Regions from separate parts of the Homo sapiens genome. Here all the other regions are linked to region 3. Evidence: promoter capture Hi-C in human tissues and cell types (Jung and others, 2019). All regions are on one chromosome and are shown on one strand. The core of a region is centred on a gene start or on the middle of the fragment in contact, and the rest is flanking DNA. Distances in the headings are between cores, read along the strand shown.

Evidence for each region. The method cuts DNA at HindIII sites, captures the fragments that hold promoters and counts their contacts. A contact is called where the count stands out against the background at its distance.
Region 1: a fragment that was not itself captured here is called in contact with the fragment with the promoter of KLRG2 in region 3 in 1 of the 25 tissues and cell types used here (bladder).
Region 2: a fragment that was not itself captured here is called in contact with the fragment with the promoter of KLRG2 in region 3 in 1 of the 25 tissues and cell types used here (adrenal gland).

The regions. Positions count from the first base shown.
Region 1 is chr7:139,613,353-139,616,789 of GRCh38, reverse strand. HIPK2 (homeodomain interacting protein kinase 2) reads left to right here. Exons shown (of 15, transcript NM_022740.5): 8 at 2,297-2,504. It overlaps LOC105375530 (a long non-coding RNA gene), which reads right to left. Exons shown (of 4, transcript XR_001745383.2): 3 at 2,533-2,677; 4 at 1,237-1,327. Among named protein-coding and RNA genes, the nearest start is that of CLEC2L, 91 kb to the right of the region's middle. The HindIII fragment of the contact is 6,188 bases long and covers 1-3,437 here.
Region 2 is chr7:139,637,437-139,640,487 of GRCh38, reverse strand. The region is part of intron 2 of HIPK2 (homeodomain interacting protein kinase 2); the gene reads left to right. Among named protein-coding and RNA genes, the nearest start is that of CLEC2L, 120 kb to the right of the region's middle. The HindIII fragment of the contact is 9,022 bases long and covers 1-3,051 here.
Region 3 is chr7:139,482,362-139,485,503 of GRCh38, reverse strand. It overlaps KLRG2 (killer cell lectin like receptor G2), which reads left to right and starts at 1,831. Exons shown (of 5, transcript NM_198508.4): 1 at 1,831-2,618. The coding sequence starts at 1,862. RefSeq lists silencers at 1,662-1,721, 2,182-2,461 and an enhancer at 2,592-2,671. The HindIII fragment of the contact is 6,160 bases long and covers 1-3,142 here.

The DNA.
Region 1 (3,437 bases), core at 375-2,874, 130 kb before region 3:
ACCACTAAGACACAGCCCCTCCCTCCCAGGAGACTTTAGGCTGGAAAGACCAACTGTACTGTAAGGCAGATTGTAACAGGAGCTGGGCTAGAAGGCTATATTGTACTGTGTGATAGCAAAGGAAGGAGCAATTCATTTCCATTAATGGTGTCTGAAAGGGTTTCACAATGGGGCATGTGGGACCCAGGCTAGGCCTTAAAGCCCAAAGGCTTGGAGAGAATGCTATGGGTCAGAGAGCTTGTATGAAGGGAAAGGCCTGTGCTCACAGTATGCTTGGAAAACAATGAGTAAACTAATCTTGGTGTCAGAAGAGTGGAGAGCAGAGGGAGATAAGTCTAGAAGGTAAGGTTGGCCAAACCAGGGAAAACAGGGCACTAGACCAGGCGCATACCATGTTCATCAAGCTGTAATTGGGATTTTGGAGCAGGGGTGCTGACATGCACAAAGGTGTCTTGTGGAAAGAATGATCTACCCTCTGTGCTCAAGAAGGCTGGAAGGGAAGTAGAGACCAGAACATTTCTAGTCAGGGCCTTATAGGTCCCAGGCACCAGGAAGTCACAACTGAAAAGAGTCAGTGGATTCCAGGGACATCAGGAAGGAAGCAGCAGCAGGAGCAGTGGCTGGCAAGAAAGTGGAACCACCGAGCAGAAGTTTGGGAACCTAGAGGATACAGGTGCCAGGACCCCCAGCAGGGACACCCACAGGGGCTAAGGGCTGGGGGGAGTCTAGATATGAGCAGACCATGGGGAATGTGGAGGGTTGAGGGGGAAGAAGCCTCCGGAAGAGATCGCGATATGGAGAAAACAGGAAATACAAGTCATGTCATCTGACAAAACACAGACACTGATGCCCACATATGTACACACGTGTCCCAAGCAGACTATGCGACGCTGCAAAAGCACACCCACTTTAAAATATGTGGCTTAAAATCAGACATCTGTGCCACTCAATTTCGTGATTATTTTCAAACAAATCAATTTGCTTTGCAATGAAATTTAGCACAAAATCTAAGTATAGAAAACATATGTAAAATAAGACTTTGTCCTTTTTATCAAATGTGACATCCATACACACCCTACTTGAAATTCTATTTGTGTCCAAGATATCTTCGTGGTTTCTTCCTATGTATTCCCTGGTCCTTGTAACTTCTAGAGGCAAAACCTCTTGTAGACAGTGCTGAATGTGAAACCACTGGTAACCACCTATCTTGCTAAAGGATCAGTATGAAGGCTAAGATAGGGGAAACTGGAGAATTCCAAAGTTGGAATTTATTTTCCTTATACAGCCTCATTTTTCATGCAAGTTCAGTCTCAAGTGATGTCTTTTTCTGAAAAAGAAAGGCAAGAGGACATAATGTCAATGGCTTGTGTTTGTCAAAGCCACCTCCATTTCAGTTATCTGGACACACCAGCATCTTTTCTATCTGCCAGGCTTTGTCACTGCATACCAACATGAATGCATGGGATGCAGACACAAAGCCCCAGGCTCAACATGTCCCTCTCCCTCTCTGCATACATCTCCTGTACTTCTCTAAGCTTTGCAGCCATCTAAGGACATCTGTAAACAGTACTGCCCATAGTCCTGAGCCCCTCCTCGGCCCTGCTCTCCGCCTGTTGCATGTGCTCCTGTGCCAAGCTCTGGGTACTGAGACCATAGTCCTTTAGGGCCTGCAAGAGCCTCCCCCTGGATTTGTCCTCCCACATGTGGACTGCACCCACCAGGCCCGAGGGGAGTGTGAGCAGAGCTTGGACGTGCAGGCTGGCAGGTCCAGGCACCCAGAGCTCATCATGTTGTGGGATGGAATGGGGCTTGGGCAGAGAGAAGGAGGGCAAGGTCCAGCTCTCTCCCTGTCACCATGTGTCAGCACAGAACCCAAGGAATCCCATAGTCCTCAACTCACGCCTGGTCTTCCCGGTTATTGGGAAGGTGTATTTGTCAAAATGAAAAGGCAGAACATTTTATTAAACAGTTTTCTAGCCTAATTTTTAGCCTTTTCAGCATTTAGACATGGTAGCAGGCATCCGTGTGTCCTCTTGTCTGGGCCTCACAAATGCCAGGAGCAAGTCTGAATGTGAACACCAAGGTGACTGTCTCCCATGTTTTCAGGGACCTGCTTTTCCCTGCGACTTTCAATCGTGTTTCCACTCCTCTCTGCTTTTGCCTTTCTGCTCTTAGTTTTTGTTTGTTTGTTCTTCTTTGAGTTCATTTATTTGATTTAGATTCGTGTCTCCCAACATGCCACCTCCCTCATTTTTTATTTTTGTTTATTTTTGTTTAATCCCCATCACTCCTTTAGGCTCCCTCCTCTACCAGTGCCACTATTTCCTTAGCCAATCCCGAAGTCTCCATACTAAACTACCCATCTACACTCTACCAGCCCTCAGCGGCATCCATGGCTGCAGTGGCCCAGCGGAGCATGCCCCTGCAGACAGGAACAGCCCAGATTTGTGCCCGGCCTGACCCGTTCCAGCAAGCTCTCATCGTGTGTCCCCCCGGCTTCCAAGGTAAGATTGAGCAGCCACAGCCTCTCACCTGCTTCTTACAGAACGGCCTCTGGGGCTCCGGCACCTGCAGTTTTCTGTCACGCTCATTTTCATGGAGAAAGGCCCTCCTCATTTCTTCCAGTGAGAGCGCTGGTATCACTGAACTAGAGGGCTCCTCTCCTACTGTGGCCAACCTAGAAACAATAGGGCTTATGCCTCAGCACCAAGTCAATCCTTTGTGACTCTCACACCTGCCAGGGACTGTGTCCCTGGCCAGCTGTCTGTAAATAAGTACATAGTTTGTGCTTTCATTGTTATGCTGATGTCAGCTCTTGCTTTTCCTCGCATGAAATATCCTCTGTGTGGGTTATCTGTAGAAAACTGCCAATCTCTGACAGCCGACATAGTCCCAGCTCCCATGAAGAATATCCATCAGTCTGAAAAGTACTTCCCTGGGACCCCTCCTCAAAACAATTCTTTGGCCATGACCCCAGCACTCCTCTCCTGTAGACTCTAAGAAGCTAGACTGTGTACTTTGTTACAATTTACCCAGAAAGCTTAAGAATTTATTTTTGCAAGCCTCATGGTGTAAACTGTGTGGTTACAGTCAATGCAATTCCAAATGGGTTCATACATCTCCCCAACACCCCTCATTTTGACATACACAGGTACATCTTGATGGTCAGAAGCCCTTGTTTTCCTGTTGTAATCTGCGAGCATATCTGTCCTACTTTTGGCCTTACAGCCTCCTTAATCTGACCTTCTAGCCTTTGAAGACATTCAAGATTTCAGGAGGAGTTTTGTTTTTTAATTTGTTAGAAGCCAAAGGGGAGACTTCCAAGGACCAGGCAATACCTGGTTGTTGTCAGTGACCAGTGCAAAGGGAAGCAGAAAGTTGACATAACTGCCCAGGAAGGTTCTTTTCATCCAGCTGTTCACAGCGTCTCAGCTAAC
Region 2 (3,051 bases), core at 114-2,613, 160 kb before region 3:
GTAGGTACACAACCAGTACCTGACAGGGCTGGGATTCAACCCGGTGAACACTGGGATCCCAAGTGCGGGCCACGCCCTCTTGACTTCTGCAGCCTCTACACCTCCACTGGAGGCCATTCCCCTGCAGGGTCATATGATCTGGACATGATCTGGGAATGCTTCTCAGTGTGTGCAGTCAAGAGAGCGAGTGGAGCTAAATCATCAAAGCTTCCATATTGATGGTGTCCAAAATGACAGTTGTTTTTCCTCTTTCTTTAGAAAGATAGAATTTTCAGTGTCTTCCTATGAGAATGTTGGAAAGAAATTATCCCCCTCTTTCTTAGGTGCAGATTTTGTCTGACACTTCATGTGTGTTTAAAGTATTTTTGATGTCCCAAAATAGTAATGAGGCGATTCTTTAAGATGGTTCCATGGGGTGGAGCTGTAGCAGTGAAGGTGAGGAAGAGCAAATGAGAGATCAGTTATGACAGAACCTGGAAATGCTCACTCACAGTATTCAGGAACCAGCAGCCCTACCTGCCTGAAACCGAACCGAGAACAGGAACAGCCCCTGTGGAAGCAACCGACATGTGATGATCAACCCAAAAAACCATGTAAACTCTGAAACAGAAAGGCCAAGCTGTCTGCCTCTCACATAGGAGGTACTGACAAGGTGGCATTGCCAGCTCCAGGGAAAACTGGCAACTGCTGAGGGTGTGCACTTGACATAGACTCATTCCTTCTACAAATGTGTATGGAGCACCTACATGCCCAGGCTGCGTGCTAGGCGCTGGAGATACAGCAGTGACATGGGGGTTGGGGGACTTGCGCTGCTCTGTGTGTGGTAGCCACCCCTGCCTGGCCACTTACTAAGGCTCAGCTCAGACTCCTCCTGGGAAGCCCATCCTGCTTTCTCTCTCCTCCTCCAATTTCCCCCATCTTTGTGTACTATGTACACACTTCACACATTGTATGTCAGATGTCGCTATGCTGCTACCTTGGCTAGACGGTGAACTCCTGGAAGAGCTGCAGGGTCTGGTTTACTTTTTGATCTTTAGCACCCAGCACAGTACCTGGCACAGAGGAAACACTTAGTAAATGGTGGTTGAATATTCTAATAAGTGAGTGAGGACAGCTTGAAACAAATTCTGGCTCAGAATGACTGTCAGAATGAGCTTCCCTGAAGATTAAGCATGCTTTAGCAACCATCCAACATGCTTCAGGTGGGCTGGATGAAAAGAAACATTTTAGACTTGACTTTGAACTTCTAGGACCTCAGAGCCTTATAGACTAGCAGAGCAGGGGGACAAGGCCTCTGCAAGATCAGATCCCAGCAAAATGGTCTGAAGTCCCCAAAGATTCCTGGGGGCCAAATGGGGAACTACCTCCCTTACCTGAGGGTTTATGGGCTGGGTGTTGAGCAGCTGTTTACGAAGCAGCTTCTGTGTGCCAGGCTGAGGATCAAGGACAAGTGAGATGCAGACCCTGCCCTCCAGGAGGTATAGTAGAGGCAGATATGCAAACGTATTTGTGTGTCAAAAATGACAATTATTGGCTGGGCGTGGTGGCTCACGCCTGTAATCCAGCACTTTGGGAGGCCGAGGCGGGCGGATCACGAGGTCAGGAGATCGAGACCATCCTAGCTAACATGGTGAAACCGCGTCTTTACTAAAAATACGAAAAATTAGCCGGGCATGGTGGTGGGCGCCTGTAGTCCCAACTACTCAGGAGGCTGAGGCAGGAGAATGGCGTGAACCCGGGAGGTGGAGCTGGCAGTGAGCCAAGATCGCGCCACTGCACTCCAGCCTGGGCAACAGAGTGAGACTCTGTCTCAAAAAAAAAAAAAAAAAAAGACAATTATTTACTCTCTTTCTCCAGAACAAGAATGTTTAGTGGCTTGCTTTGGGAATGTTGGAAAGGAATGAGTCCTCTTTCTTAGGTGCAGATTTTGTCTGACACTTCATATATATGTTTAAAGTATTTCTGATGTCCCAAAATAGCGATGAGGAAATTCTTTAAGATGGTTCTGTGGGGCCAGTGGGTGCTCAGTTAGTATTTATTGGACCAATCTGGTCTGAGTATGTCATTGATCTTTGTATGCTTGTCACCTGGTAGAGCCAGCACAGAGACAGTGGGCAGTGTCTGTTTGAATAAGGAAGAATGGAAGCGGGCAGGGAGGGGAGCAGGCTGTATCTGAAACATGTCTCATGAGTGCAGAGAAAAGGCTGCACCCTTAGGGGTGGGAGAGGGATCCAGAGTGGATTGGAAAAGGTTAAAACCAAAGGCAAGAGAGCAGCAGGTGGCTGTAGTGAGGCCCAGATGGAAGAGCATGTGATTTCGCATGCTGCAGTGGGACTGCGCAGGATAAAGTCTTCAACATAAGAGCTAAGGTGGAGGCTCTAGAGGGCGTAATGACAATGGCCATAAAATAAGAGGTTTGGGCTAAATCCCTGAGGTCCCAAGTCCTAACCCTGCATGAGCCAGGTGCCACTTCTAGCCCTCCTGTTCCTCCTCCCTGTCATTTTTGCTGTAATTCTTTTGTTGGCCACCTGCAAGTAGGTGTCCTTGGCACTCCTGCTGTCTGCCCTGCTGTGGTGAGTGTGAGCCGGGTTGCTCGTGCCCCTCTCTGAGCCTCAGCTTCTGCTCCTCCTTGGGCTAAATCCTGCCCCCTCATGCCCAAACCTTGATTGCTGCATAATGATTCAGCCCTTCTACTCTCTTTTATCTGCACTGCCTTAGAGCTTTGTCTTAATCCATATTTTAACACTTTCTTATATTTAATAAAGGTTTATTTGATCAACAAATGCTTAATGAGTGGCTACCGAATGCCTGCGCTGCCCTCATAGACTTGGTCAGGGAAGACAGACAGTGAGCAGGTTAAGAAAGTGCTGTGAAGTGGCATTTATGGCACCCTATATGAAGACTAACTGGTGTCAAGGGAGGCCTGTCTGTAGCGTGACAGCTGAGCTAAGATTTGAGGGATGAGAAGGAGGCAGCCATGTGACAGCCAGCAGGGAGAGCATTTAAGGCAGAAGCAACAGCATCCCACGAAGACTCTGGCTCCAAAGGAGC
Region 3 (3,142 bases), core at 582-3,081:
CTCCCGAGTTCAAGCAATTCTCCTGCCTCAGCCTCCCGAGTAGCTAGGATTACAGGCACCCACTACCACGCCCGGCTAATTTTTTGTATTTTCAGGCACCCGAGTAGCTGAGACTACAGGCGCATGCCACCATGCCAGCTAATTTTTTGTATTTTAGTAGAGACGGGGTTTCACTGTGTTGCCCAGGCTGGTCTTGAACTCTTGAGCTCAGTCAATCCGCCCACCTCGGCCTCCCAAAGTGCTGGGATTACAGGCGTGAGCTGCCGCGCCCAGCTTAATTTTTGCTTTTTTAGTAGAGACAGGATTTCAGCATGTTGGCCAGGCTGGTCTCGAACTCCTTACCTCAAGTGATCCACCTGCCTCGGCCTCCCAAAGTGCTGGGATTACAGGCTGAGCCACCACGCCTGGCCTCATCCCTTCTTAAAACGAGTTTTCCATTTGCAAACTGCTGGTTTCTTGGGGGCATTGTCCCCATGAGCTTTTCATAAAAATATCAATGATGTCACCATAAATGTGATGATTATTCTTGCTTCAAATTTAGCAGAATCCTTGTTGCTCTGACAGGAGCTCTTTTCAAACTGATGTCTTATCCTTCTTAGTGCCTCAAACTAGATCTTGTCGAGACATGTGATAACAAGTTAGTACAAATTTATTTTGGTGCCAAAAAATTTTCAAATCCATGCATAGTTTTTTTCATAGTATGAATTTTCCATGAACCTTTTGAAGACCGCTTGTATAGAAAAAAACAGTATATATAGGGTTTGGTGCTATCCAAAGTTTCAGGCATTCACTGGGAGGTCTTGGAACTATCCCAGTGGATAAGGGAGGACTACTATGCTAAAAACTATCCCTTGTTTAACTGAAATTCAAATTAAACTGAGTGGCCTGCATTTTATCTGCCAACCCTACCCTGGGGGCACTTAAAAATACCAGAGGCCAGGCGGGGCGCGGTGGCTCACGCCTGTAACCCCAGCACTTTGGGAGGCCGAGGCGGGCAGATCACGAGGTCAGGAGATCGAGACCATCCTGGCCAACATGGTGAAACCCCGTCTCTACTAAAAATACAAAAATTAGCCGGGCGTGGTGGGGTGGGTGCCTGTAGTCCCAGCTACTCACGAGGCTGAGGCAGGAGAATCGCTTGAACCTGGGAGGCGGAGATTGCAGTGAGCCGAGATCGGGCCACTGCACTCCAGCCTGGCGACAGAGCAAGACTCCGTCTCAAAAAAAAAAAAAAAAAGAAGAATTGCTTATCCACGCCCTGTTTCTTTTCTCTTAGCGTTACTCAGTGGGGGAGTCCTCCCAAGTATGATGGAGAGTCCTTTCGAAACCCTGCTGGATTGTCAGGACAACCAACTGGGCTACTTTTCCACAGGTCGCCCCAATTCCTTTGGATTCTGATTTCTCTGAGGTCCCAGGATCCAGACAGGCTTGGCCAATCCTTCCCCGCCCAAACTGTAACTCTCAAAACCAACACCCCGGCATAGGGCTGGAGGGGAAAATGGGTGAGGTCAGAGACAAAGAAGAGGGAAGGGTCAGGCGGGGCTCCGGGTTCCCTGCCACAAGCCTCCGCTGGTGTTCTGCTTTTCTCCCGAGAGCTCCCGCCCACCCTGCAACCCTCGCCTGGCCCCGCTGCCGTTCTCAGCTCCCTCCCAGTGCCTGGTGGAGGCCGGGGCTGTGTCCCGAAGGGGGTCGGGGCAGCAGAACCTCAGCCACAGCCAATCACAGCGGGGTCCTTCGGGGAGGGGCGTGGCCTGACAACTTCGGCGACGCGGCTGGACCAATCCGGACGGAGGAGAGCGAAGCTCCTCTGCACTGGGCCCAGGTGCGCTCCTCAGCGTCTCCGGGTGGCGGGGCGCGCGGGATGGAGGAGTCTTGGGAGGCTGCGCCCGGAGGCCAAGCCGGGGCAGAGCTCCCAATGGAGCCCGTGGGAAGCCTGGTCCCCACGCTGGAGCAGCCGCAGGTGCCCGCGAAGGTGCGACAACCTGAAGGTCCCGAAAGCAGCCCAAGTCCGGCCGGGGCCGTGGAGAAGGCGGCGGGCGCAGGCCTGGAGCCCTCGAGCAAGAAAAAGCCGCCTTCGCCTCGCCCCGGGTCCCCGCGCGTGCCGCCGCTCAGCCTGGGCTACGGGGTCTGCCCCGAGCCGCCGTCACCGGGCCCTGCCTTGGTCAAGCTGCCCCGGAATGGCGAGGCGCCCGGGGCTGAGCCTGCGCCCAGCGCCTGGGCGCCCATGGAGCTGCAGGTAGATGTGCGCGTGAAGCCCGTGGGCGCGGCCGGTGGCAGCAGCACGCCATCGCCCAGGCCCTCCACGCGCTTCCTCAAGGTGCCGGTGCCCGAGTCCCCTGCCTTCTCCCGCCACGCGGACCCGGCGCACCAGCTCCTGCTGCGCGCACCATCCCAGGGCGGCACGTGGGGCCGCCGCTCGCCGCTGGCTGCAGCCCGGACGGAGAGCGGCTGCGACGCAGAGGGCCGGGCCAGCCCCGCGGAAGGAAGCGCCGGCTCCCCGGGCTCCCCCACGTGCTGCCGCTGCAAGGAGCTGGGGCTGGAGAAGGAGGATGCGGCGCTGTTGCCCCGCGCGGGGTTGGACGGCGACGAGAAGCTGCCCCGGGCCGTAACGCTTACGGGTGAGTGCTCACCTGCGCCGGCAGCCGACGCCGCCAGGTCGGGTGGACGTAGCCGAAACCCCCACACCCGCCCAGCCCTGGACCGCTGGGCAGCTGACCGACTAAGGGACCCAGTTGGCCATCCCGATCCCCAACCCGATCTGGCCTCTCGGGCTTACAATCAATAACATTCCTGTCTACGTAACTGTAATTCACATTGTTGCCGTGTCTCACGCCTGTAATCCCAGCACTTTGGGAAGCCGAGGCGGGCGGATCACCTGAGGTCAGGAGTTCGAGACCAGCCTGACCAATATGATGAAACCCCGTCTCTACTAAAAATACAAAAATTAGCCTGGCATGGTGGCATTCACCTGTAATCCCAGCTACTCAGGAGGCTGAGACAGGAGAGTCGCTTGAACCCGAGAAGCGGAGGTTGCAGTGGGCCGAGATCATGCCATTGTACTCCAGCCTGGGCAACAAGAGAGAAACTCCGTCTCAAAAAAAAAAGAGTAAAGCCACTCCCCTTCTCATCCTCCCCTACCCGC